Linked DNA regions of Homo sapiens: regions 1, 2 and 4 are each linked to region 3. The links are contacts of gene promoters, found by promoter capture Hi-C in blood cells and fetal thymus (Javierre and others, 2016). All regions are on one chromosome and are shown on one strand. The core of a region is centred on a gene start or on the middle of the fragment in contact, and the rest is flanking DNA. Distances in the headings are between cores, read along the strand shown.

Region 1 (2,867 bases), core at 72-2,571, 850 kb before region 3:
GAAGTGAGGAAGATAACAACATTATTGAATGCCAGAATAAAAGCTACAGATGCATAGTGGATCAGCAGAAAGGAGTAGAGGGCATAGTAACGTTGAAAGAGGCATCAATGGGGAAATAAAAGGGCAGAGATTGAGAGACCATATATAAGAATGTATGTTATAAACAGGTGGAGATGTGAGAAAAATCCTTTCTACTCGAAGTGTGGTCCTCAGATCAGCAGTGATGTATCAGCTGGAGCTTGTTAGAAATGCAGGATCTCAGACTCCACCTATAATTAAAATGCATTTAACAAGATCCCCACTTGATTTCAGTGCACATTAAACTTTGAGGAGGGTGCATCAAAGGTACACACATGGATGATGAGAAAACCTTGCAGATGGGTGGTGGAGGGAGCAGCTTGATGGATGAGATGAAGACATATATATATATATATATATATATACACAAAAATGTGCCAGGAGGAAGGTGGTCATGGAGTAGTTTGTGGGTAGTTTAGCTGATTATGAATTATATATTAGTTTCCACTCATGCTTTCAGAGCCTCAATGGTATGAGACAAAGCATGAGAGTGTTAAGGAATGGAGTGGGAGATTCCTAAAAGATTCTGATGTTATTAGGAATTGGTTTTAATTTTAGGCTTTTGTCACTGAATGTACATTTTTCTTCCCTTTTGTTTGTTTGGCTATTTTTAATTGAGAAAGCTGTATTGTGGGGAGCTATTCAAAAGTGACTTAAAGCAAGAAGTCACTCCCATAAGCTTGGCTTCTGAACATTCTTGCTTCTTCCTCTCATTCTTCAATCATTTTCTCATAGGCTGTTTTGCAAGTCTTCAAGTCTTCTAGGCATCCCTTGGATGTTTTTGTTTTCAGGATCTGTTCTCGGCTGTCTCTTCTCTTTTCACAGAACAAAATTCTCTAGGTTGTATAATCGATTATTGCAGTTTCCACTACCACTAATACACTAGTGACTTTCAGAGTTTTATCTTCAGTCTTGTTCAATTGGGAGCGTCAGACCTACTGCTCAGTTCATATATCTTACTGGATATACAACAGGCAACTCACATGGTTATGGACTGAATGTCTGTGTCCTTCCGAAATTCATACATTGAAAAATCCCAACCCCCAGTGCAGTGGTACTGGGGGAGGGTCTTTGGGAGGTAATTAGGTCATGAGGGTGAGGCCCTCAAGAGTGGGATTAGTACCCTCATTAGAAGATACACAAGGGAGGTGATACCTATTTCTGCTATTTGAGGATATAATTAGAAGATGGGCATTTGTAAACCTGGAACAGGGCCTTCACCAGAACCCAACTATACTGGCACTCTGATCTTAGACTTCCAGTCTCCAGAACTGTGAGAAATGAATGTTTATTCTTCAAGCCACCTAGTCGATGGTAATTTGTTATAGCAGCCTGAGCTGGCTAAGAGAGAGACTCAAGAAGTCACAAGCTGAATTCATCATCTTCTTTCTAAAACACCCTCTCTATACTCTACCAGTGAATGTTACTACCATGATCTCAGTCTCCTATGCAGGGATCATAGATGTCCCTGTATGTTTCAAGTTTTTCCACGTTCTCCATCTCTAATTATCATTAAAACATATTGATTCTATCTCCTTAACACTTCTGCATCCACCTTCTTATTTCCATTCACATGGCTATTGCCTTGGTTCAGTGCCTTCTAGATCCCTTCCCTGATATATCACAGCAGTCTTTTAACTATTTGCCACCTTCAGTGTAGCCCCATTTCAATTTTAATCTCAATGCTTCAGACAAAGTGGCATTTTAAAAACTCACATTTAGAACTAAAATATCTCTCATGTTAAAACTAGACAATAGCTCCCCATTAACTATTGAATAACTTTTAAACATTTTTGTAAATAATGTATAAAGCTTGTATCCTGCATATTGTACAGCTTTATCTCTCATTGCAGTTCTCTCTGCAGGTTTTGTCTTCTGCTTAAAATTTTCTGAATAGAAAAATCTGTTTCATACCTCCATATCTTTGTTCGTGCTGTGCACTCTACCTGTACCTTCTCTGTCTCTTCTCTTTGCCAGATATAATTTTAAGGGCTGAACAGTGATTAGCTTATACATAAAGTCTTTCCTAACCACCCCCTCCATCTTTTGTATGTACACTGAACCTTATGCAGCCTTGGATTATCACTCACATGTTCCACCAACACGGCAGTTCTAAGGCCCTGGTCTGTTTACATTATTGTTCTTACTCTTCTGATGCTTAATTGCAAAAATGTCTATTCCTGCGAGACTGCAAGGCCTGGGTGGAGGAGGCATTTAGGGCCTAGGAGACAGCATTGGCTAATGGATCCTGTGGGGCTGGAGCTAAAAAGGCATTGTTTATAAATAAAGGAAATGGCCAAAAGTAACGGGAGCCAAGTTTCTCACTGTAAGAGAAAGGATATTCAATAATTTAAAGGGTGAAAATTAGAACAGAATGGTGTTCCATCAGAATTGGAGATACCAGTATGATGAACTCTTGAGAGAGATATATATTTATATTATACACACACACAAACACACACACACACGAGAGAGAGAGTGAAAGAAAGGAAAAGGACATAGCCCTGTATGTGCATGTGTAGATAGATACATGTGTGTGTGTGTACATTTTCTATATTTTCTAGCTTTTTCTGCTGAGACAGCCTAAAAGCAATGGAGCCCCAGCAGCAAAGAACACACATAGTGTCCAGATCTGGACTTATATATGTATGTTTCTCCAATAAGAGAAACAAAGACTTTTTAGAGAAATGTTTAATTCCAGGGCTGGGGCAAGGAAAGTACAAGATGAGCCCAAAATATCTTGATTTGTCATAAAACAAGAGAATGATTAAAAACAATGTGGACTTATC
Region 2 (2,968 bases), core at 189-2,688, 920 kb before region 3:
TTGGCAAGATCTCTGTTCTGTGCTTCATACAAATGAACACTTGAGAGAATTGGACCTGTACCATAGCAACCTTGATAAATCAGCAATGAATATCCTGCATCATGAACTAAGGCACCCAAACTGTAAACTACAAAAGCTACTGTAAGTCTGGTATGAGAAAATTTAATGGAGTTATTCTAATTTCTTTCTGTGTCCCATCTTCCACTCATACTCGTTAGGGGAAGCCAATGCTAAACAAATACTTACAATCCATTTTGTAAAATAAACAGGAACAATGGAATCCTCTGGGGACATGGGATCATTACTAACTGGTTCTCAGAGTGATTCCACAGGGCATAGTAGCTGTTCACATGGGTTTTTCAGGCTTGATTAGGAACTTTCTAAATGAAGAGCACAGAGCTAAAACATTCTAGGCAGGTCACCAATGCACTTTCAAGGACATGTTCTGGAACTTACTATCCTCTTAAATTTTTTTCTATTGAGGAAAAATTTGCATTTAACAAAGTCCACAAATAATGTTCAGTTTGTTGTGTTCTGACAAGTGTAAACATCTTTATAACCAACACACCCAAAACAAGATAGAAAATATTTTCATTTATCTCAGAAAGGTCCCTTGTACCCCTTTCGTTTTTTTTTTTCCTGAGACAGGGTCTTACTCTGTTGTCCAGGCTGGAATGCAGTGATGCTATCGCAGCTAGAACTCCTGGGCTCAAGCAATCCTGCCACCTCAGCCTCCCAAGTAGCTGGGATTACAGGCATGTACCACCATGCCAGGCTATTTTTTTTTAATTTTTTGTAGAGATGTGGTCTCACTGTGTTGCCCAGGCTGGTCTGAAACTTCTGGGCTGAGGAGATCCTCCTGCCTCAGCCTCGTAAAGTGCTGGGATTACAGGCATGAGCCACAATGTCCAGCCTATCCCTTTCTGTTCAATCTTCTCACCCCATCCATTCCCAGAGACAATCATTTTCTAATCTCTGTCACCAGAGTTCAGCTTTGTATCTTTTTGGAATCATTTTGATTGATTTATACAGTATGTATTTTTTTTAATTTATCTTCTTTCTCTTTCTTTTCTTTTCTTTTTTTTTTTTGAGACAGTCTTGCTCTGTCACCAGGCTGGAGTGTAGTGGCACAATCTCGGCTCACTGCAACCTCCGCCTCCCAGGTTCAAGCCATTCTCCTGCCTCAGCCTCCCGAGTAGGTGGGACTACAGGCACGCAGCACCACACCTGGCTAATTTTTGTATTTTTAGTAGAGACAGGGTTTCACCATGTTGGCCAAGCTGGTCTCAAACTCCTGACCTCAAGTGATCTACCCATCTTGGCCTCCCAAAGTGCTGGGATTACAGGCATGAGCCACCACACCTGGCTATATCCATCTTCTTGTGCTCAACAAAATGTCTTCTAAAATTTATCCATTTTGTTGCAACTTTTAGTAGTTTCTTTTTTATTGCTGATTAGTATTCCATTGTATAACTATACTTATACTATAATTTGTTTATTCATTCTCTTGTTAATAGACCCCTGGAGGTTTCCCTAACCTGTTAGGAATAAGGGTAATCTTTGCCAACATTAGATGCTGTCAGTCTTTTTTAAATTTTAATTTATCTTAATTGGATTCTAGATAATCACTTTAAAATGTTGATTGTTCACATGTCTCTTACCTTTTTGTGTAAGGACTCCACTAGGAGCTGAAACTGATCCTAATCTCTGTATTTTGTGCCTGTCAATATGTACAAGGTACATTTGTTGCTTAGTATGAACTGAATGCTGAACAAATGATAGATCTTTGTTTCCATTAGCACTGAAAATAGATGTTCTTTTGGGTGGGGGCTGGGGACAGGCTTCTCACCAAATATTTTCCTCCTGATCTCAGTGTTTTTAGTGAGTTCTGACCTTAGATTTCAAGCATCTAGAGTAGGCTTGGTCTTACATATAGATGTAGTAAGACAACTAGATGTATGTTATGATTACGGGGTTCCTGGAAGTCCTTTCCACTCATCCCTAAACATTTCCCCCATATTGTCCCTTCATTGGATGTCATCAATCCGGATCTTCACAATAGCCAATGCCTTCTTGGTTAACTGACTTCCTTTCTTAGAATGGGAGGGTTGCATCAGTGGGATGACACCATGATGACTGTTCTCAGTCTGTGCCACCTTAATGTGGTCTGTCTTACTGTGGTCCCTTTTTCCTAATAAGTGAGATGGTGCCATTTATGTTTACTGAGTGCCTTAGGCACTTTTACTAGATGAGGATGGTTAGTGCTATAAATGGGTAAAGGCTTTATTTTCCTGTGTGTACTTGCCTGGGGTGAGGGGAGTGAGGGTGGAGGGTGGGTGGTGGGCCGAAAGGAGGAAAGGTGGTGTTACAAAGCGAGGTTTTGGACAGTGAACAGAAGGGCATTGGGGACTAGCAGAGACACTATAGAAGAATCAGAAATATCTGACATTGACTGAGTTAGGAGGTAGAAAGTAGGAAAAAAATTGGCAGATTTAACTTCATAATATTTTGCTTGGGCTGCCTCCGTACACCTGCCTCCGTATGCCTAACGAAGTCCCCAAGATGGCACAGCATGTTTTGCAACAGCGTTTTGTTATTACTGCACATCAGACAGTTGATGCTAATTTTGAATTAACCTTGGATTATTTAAAGATTTGGCTATTGTGAATTAATGTTATTGTAGTACTTGGAATGGCCCTGATAATTTTTGATAGTCATTCCTGGGATTACAAGTTAAAGAGGCTCCTCTTCTGCTTTTCATGATGTTATCACCTTCTTTTCCGTTAAGGTAAAAAAAACTGGGGAGTGTCAATTATCAGGTCATAAATAGAAATTGAAGTTATAACCCAATTGTTTTAGATGAAAATAAGATAAAAGAATATTCATGTAATATCCAAGAATTAGATTGAAAAGAAAGGGATCCTGTAACCAAGGAGAGAAATGGTTTTGTAATACCTCCTGCATATTT
Region 3 (2,987 bases), core at 1-2,500:
CAGGCATGAGCTACTGTGCCCGGCCAAGTTTTAAGTTTTAAAAGTGAGACTGTCCCTGGCTGTGTGAACCTATAGAAAGCTGGAGCACATTTGCTGGAACTGCTGTGGTATGGCAAGAAGGTAAAAAAAATCTACACTCAACCCATTGGCCTCACATGTCAGCCTCCTGGCCTCAGTCACACAGGGATTGCAAAGCTAGAAGTCTCCTAATTCAAATAAGGAAACAAATCCAGATAATGATAGGAAGAGGAACCGCCACCTGTGAGTGCTGACTTTGTGCCAGGTGATTTACATATCCTTTTTGATCATCTCAGAAATCGTCTCAGGAACTGTTCCACATGAGAAATTTGGCAGTCAGAGAAAAATGGTTTTTCAGAGTTTTCCAGAGCTAGGCCACCGGGCAAAGAGGCAGGATTTAAACTGGTCTATGCCCTGGGTGGAAGAGAGAGACAGAAAAAACTCAAAAGATAAAGAAATAGAAGACAGAGTCAGGAACCAGAAAGTTAGGCTAAATGTTGCCAGAAGCTGGAGACATGTATAAATACTAAAGTAACGGGAAAGGAGAGCAGAGTTTTGAATTGTGTTTCTAATGTAGAACCAAAATGTAGGCCAGGTGGCAGTCTTTGGAAAAGAAAAGCAACAATTAATAGAAAGCCTTCAGAATCCAGAAATACACCTGTGACCTAAGGCCCATAGGGAACCCATCTCAGTAGTACAATGTCACATTCATCATTGAGAGTGTTCAAAAGAGAATTTGGGAACACAGAGAGTTGTTGCCATTCAAATACCAACATTTTGACTACATACTGACAGAGAAAGAAAATGTTTGGAACATGTTAGGATACAGGGGACTTTGGTTGTGAGTCATAGGCCAGTTTGGAAAAGCAGGCCTGTGAAAGCAGGATCAATTTACAACAAAGCTTCAGGCTGCATGGGAAGACTCAGGGCTTCCCTGCAAATTTCTGATGTTGGCAGAGCTATTTAATAATTCAGGAAAGAAAAGACAACACTAGAACCTGCCAAGAAGATGTCCAGTCTAGGCTGCTTACCACAGTTCAGACTTGGGGAGCTGGAGGTGAGGCAGCGAGAACTCAGCTCCCTGATCCAGGAGCCCAGTAAGCAAAGCCTGGGGACTGAGACGAAACAGATCCCCTTTCCTGGTCCGACAGCTCTACAGGTCCAAGTTTGGGCTCTCTTAGCCCATACTCACTAGTTCACTTCTGTTTGGTGGTGCTGGTACCTACCAGCTACAGCTTGATACCTAACAGTTCCTAGTATATAGGCCTGGAACAGAAGGGCCCCTCCCCATCTGCCCCAAGCCTCTGTGAAGCAGAACCACCCACTGAATGTCAGTGGGATGACTGTCAATGGGATGGGCAATTGCTCACCAGTGGGAAACTTGACCTCATTTTTTCAAATGTTGAAGTTGAGAAACAAGGGAGGGGTGGAAGGCATGAACTATTCTGTCACCAAGAGAAAAAGAGCCCAGGAGACTTCCCACATCCCTCCCTGGAACCCACACTCCTCCTCTACCACTTAACCCCAGCCTAGGCTGGGGCAGTTTGACTAGAGAGACGAAAGAATTGAAGCACTGCCACCACCATATCCTCCGCCAGTGCACCATTTCTCTAAGTTGTTGAAATCACTGGAGAATGAAAAAGGAAGAAGATAGGAGCTCCATGAAGTAGGAATTCAAACAAGGAGAAAAACAGGCCAGGCATGGTGGTTCACGCCTGTAATCCCAGCACTTTGGGAGGCTGAGGTGCGTGGATCATTTGATGTCAGGAGTTTGAGACCAGCCTGATCAACATGGTGAAACCCTGTCTCTACTAAAAATACGCAAATTAGCCGGGAATCATGGTGCATGCCTGTAATCTCAGCTACTAGGGAGGCTGAGGCAGGAAAATTGCTTGAACCCAGGAGGCGGAGGTTGCAGCGAGCTGAGATTGTGCCACTGCACTCCAACCTGGGCAACAAAGTAAGACTTTGTCTCAAAAAAACAAAAAAGAAAAAGGAGAAAAACAAATTCCCAGAAGGCAGCCAGTCCTCTGGCCTAGAGAGCTGAGGATCCCCAAGAGCCCTGACAGAAAGAGAACAGGTTTCTCCAAAAAGAATGTCTCCAAGAAAAAAGAAAAAAGACTTGCTAGACTAGCTGATGCTATTGGCCTTCTAAAACAGCCTATTGGGAGGCTATTAGAAGGTGGAAAAAGCTAGCAGTAACTTCCAAGAAAACCAGATAAATGAAAGTAAAATAAAGAAATTACTAGCAAGAGGAGAAACAAAAAATAAAATTGGAAATATAATAGTAAACTAATATACTCAAGTGTGAATAATGTTTGCATAGAAATCATAGTGTAACCACTGAACATTGCTCTAAAATTTAAAATATAATTACATTGAAAGGATGGTGGTGGAATGTACTAGAAGAGGAAGTTGATAGACAATGCCTAAAATGTTGAATCAAAAGATAGTGATATACAGTACACATATTACTTCAAAATGCAGAGATGTAAGAAGAAATAGTTAAAATCTAATGTATTAATAGTTGTTTTAGCGAAAAGAGACTGGGCATCAGGAGAGGAAAGGACTACTGTTCCAGGGCATAAGTTTTTTAATGCCTATTGACTTTAGAAATCATAACCATGTATTACTTTGAAAAGATAAAAATTAACTTAGCAAAGAAACAGTAAGAGGTAAAGAAATGGAGTTAACATGTATAGACAAATCTCTCTGGAAGCTTGGTAACAAAAGTGATGAGAAAGGTCCTGAGGTAATATGGGAGATGTGAAGTCCAGAGAAGGTTTTGTTTGCTTTAACATGGGAAAGGGAGGAATGTACCTGGATGCTGATACAAAGCCTCCCATAGAGAGGTCAGGTTAGAAATGCAGAAGAGAAAGGCAAGCACCAGAGGGGGGAATGGAGAATGGGGATTGGGACAGGATTCGAAGCAAAGGCAAAAGATTGGCCTTTGACAGGAGGCTGGAAGG
Region 4 (2,914 bases), core at 17-2,516, 870 kb before region 3:
ACATGTTCTATTTGTGGTGAAGTTTATTCTGAAGCTAATTACTCTTACAGTGTAGCACATCTAAGAATGATTTTAAAATGATTTTGATAAATATTTTGTGAGTGACATTGAATGAACATATCAAGCACAGAAAATTAGAGGAACGACATAGCAATGATGTCCTTGTTGAATGCATCTCACTATCATATTTATTAAAGTGCTCAAGGGGAATAAAAAATATGAGGACCTATTATGAAAATTTTAGAGAAAACAGTAGGAAGAAATAGTAAAGCTTTCTCAGGTTTGAAGGCTGCTTGTTATAGTAGAGAGAGAATCTTTTGATCATATGCAGAAGCTCTCATTCTGTTATTCATGTAGCTTGGACAACTTTCTTAAAACTTTAGACCTTCCGTTTTTTTCATGTGTGGTGATAATACAGTTTCATCATATTTATGGAAGTTTTAAATAAGATGACTCATATACAGCACCCAGCACAGTGCCTGGAATGCAGTGGGGTTCGTTAAGTGGTAGTATTACGGCATTCTGCAAAGCAGTAGCACAGACTTTCCTTTGGAATTTATCATTTATATTCCTAGTAAAATTGCTTCTATACTCAAAAGTCTTCAGAAAAAGTACACTTGAGAGTTTTAATTGTATTTACTCAAGCTGCACTCATCCAGCTTGAAATCTTGGAGATATATTTGACTCTTTATAGTCCCCATTAATTTTCTGCTGCCTCTTTCTTCTTCACCTCTTCAGTTGAGGGGACCAGAACTTCCACCATGGGCTCAGTGCCCCATTCCTAACCAGTCAGAAGTAAAGCAGGTTGATGTTATTATAAAGGCTTGATTCCTTCTTATCTGTTAGGGTTTAGAATTATTGCTCTCTGGCATAATTGGCTTAGACTCAATTTTGCCCCAGAAATAAAGTGCCTAGTGCAGTGCCTAGATTTTTAAAAAATGTAGCTGTTTTTATTGTTATTTACAGTTGACTCAGGCTTTGGGGCACCTAGAGAAATCTCTGAGTTGAAGAGTGTAGTAATTTAGAATAAGTAATATGTAATCTTGTAGACCTGAATTTAAATCCTGTGTCCACCATTCACCAACTGTGATCTTGGTCGGGTTACTTAATTACTCTTTGTGTTTTTTTCCCCTTACCTATAAAATAGGGTCAAGAATGCTCCCCTCATGAGATTGGTTGTCTATCTATCCATTTATTCATTGAATCTAATTTTTATTTATGTAGTACCCACCAAATGGCAAACGCTGTGCTAATATCACGCCAACTAAGGCAAACAGAAAAGCAGCACCAAGATCACAGTTAGTGAATGATCTTGGTCAGGTTGCTCTTTGTTTTTTTCCCTTATCTATAAAATAGGGACAAGAATGCAATCATACTTATTGGCCAGATTAATATTCATTAAGGACGATTCACAGAGACAGTGGAGTAGTACTTGCTAGTTGCCCAGATGCATTCTGTGGGAATACACAGAGATTTAGCATGACTGGACTTCAGCTTTGGGAGAGGAACTCCCACATTTGGGCTGTGGGGCTTTTGAGTTGCATAATATAGGAGATTCCAGCCCCTACCCTGGAATAATTAGGGGTTAGGATATAATAGCAATATGTCATGGCAGAAATAGCTATAACCCTGTCACTTCAGTGCTCGTGGTTGTGGATTTGCAGGAGTTGAGGACTTGATAATAACATCAGTCTGCCCTAGACAGGTTGACAATGGGTCACTGAACCTTGCAGTCAACAGCTGGAGAAGGGAGAGACAGTAGAATATAAATGGGGCTGAGAAGAACATGTTTTTTGTGAATAATACTTTTATCTAAGGTGGTAAAGGGCTGGAGTCAAAGTCTTGTAATTGAAGCTGTATGGCAGCAAAGCAAACTAGAGGCAGGACTTGCTACATCAGCATTCAAGATTGAGAATGTACTAACATTATAGCTGCAGGGGTAACTGTGGCCCAGGCTGTGCAGCTGACCATGATTGACTGCATTAAAAATGGGCTAAAAGCAGCTTTCAGTGAAATTTGCAGAAGGCCAATCCTTTCCAGGATGCCAATCTACTGAGGATTAGTTTTGGATAAATTAATCCTTGTCTCTTAGCTAAGCAATGGAGACATATTGGTGAGCCAAAGTAGACATTGTTAATCCTCACATGGAACAGTGTTCAAAAGGTAAGATAGACTGGTTAAATTGTCATACAAAAAGCAACATTTTAACCATGACAAGCACTATGAAAGAGAGATACATAGCACTATGAGACATGTTTTTAAAAGCTTGATGTAGTATAACAGGGATCCCCAACTCCTGGGCCAGGAACTGGGCTGCACAGCAGGAGCTGAGTGGTGGACGAGCTGGCAAAGCTTCATCTGTATTTACAGCCGCTCCCATCACTTGCATTACCACCTGAGTTCCACCTCCTTTGAGATCAGCAGCAGCATTAGATTCTTACAGGAGCATGAGCCCTATTGTGAACTGCACATGTGAGGGACCTAGGTTGCATGCTCCTTATGAGAGTCTAATAGTTGATGATCTGTCACTGTCTCCCATCACCTCCAGTTGGGACCATCTAGTTGCAGGAAAACAAGCCCAGGGCCTCCACTGATTCTACTTATGGTGAGTTGTATAATTAATTCATTATGTATTACAATGTAATAATAGTAGAAATAAAGTGCACAATAAATGTAATGTGCTTGAATCATCATAAAACTATCTCCCCCGACTCCCTGGTCCCTGGAAAAGTTGTCTTCCACAAAATTGGTCCCTGGTGCCAAAAAGCTTGGGGACCACTATATATAGGACACCTAGAGAATGCATCCTTAAGTGATAATTGAACTAAGATGTGAAGGATGTATAAGAGCTAAATTTCTGTGAAAATTAAATGAGATAATATATAAAAAAGCATGTAGCACATAGTAACCCTCA

What was found. The method cuts DNA at HindIII sites, captures the fragments that hold promoters and counts their contacts. A CHiCAGO score of 5 or more calls a contact.
Region 1: a fragment that was not itself captured here is called in contact with the fragment with the promoter of NLRP10 in region 3 in 1 of 17 cell types (M0 macrophages); the score reaches 6.0 in M0 macrophages.
Region 2: a contact is called between a fragment that was not itself captured here and the fragment with the promoter of NLRP10 in region 3, in 1 of 17 cell types (M2 macrophages). The highest score is 5.0, in M2 macrophages.
Region 4: a fragment that was not itself captured here is called in contact with the fragment with the promoter of NLRP10 in region 3 in 1 of 17 cell types (M0 macrophages); the score reaches 6.2 in M0 macrophages.

Annotation. Positions count from the first base shown.
Region 1 is chr11:7,118,043-7,120,909 of GRCh38, forward strand. No RefSeq gene overlaps it. Among named protein-coding and RNA genes, the nearest start is that of RBMXL2, 30 kb to the left of the region's middle. The HindIII fragment of the contact is 1,133 bases long and covers 756-1,888 here.
Region 2 is chr11:7,046,692-7,049,659 of GRCh38, forward strand. It overlaps NLRP14 (NLR family pyrin domain containing 14), which reads left to right. Exons shown (of 12, transcript NM_176822.4): 5 at 1-141. Among named protein-coding and RNA genes, the nearest start is that of NLRP14, 28 kb to the left of the region's middle. The HindIII fragment of the contact is 3,423 bases long and covers 1-2,968 here.
Region 3 is chr11:7,964,197-7,967,183 of GRCh38, forward strand. It overlaps NLRP10 (NLR family pyrin domain containing 10), which reads right to left and starts at 1,251. Exons shown (of 3, transcript NM_001391958.1): 1 at 1,050-1,251. The HindIII fragment of the contact is 1,817 bases long and covers 919-2,735 here.
Region 4 is chr11:7,094,571-7,097,484 of GRCh38, forward strand. No RefSeq gene overlaps it. Among named protein-coding and RNA genes, the nearest start is that of RBMXL2, 7.0 kb to the left of the region's middle. The HindIII fragment of the contact is 1,994 bases long and covers 270-2,263 here.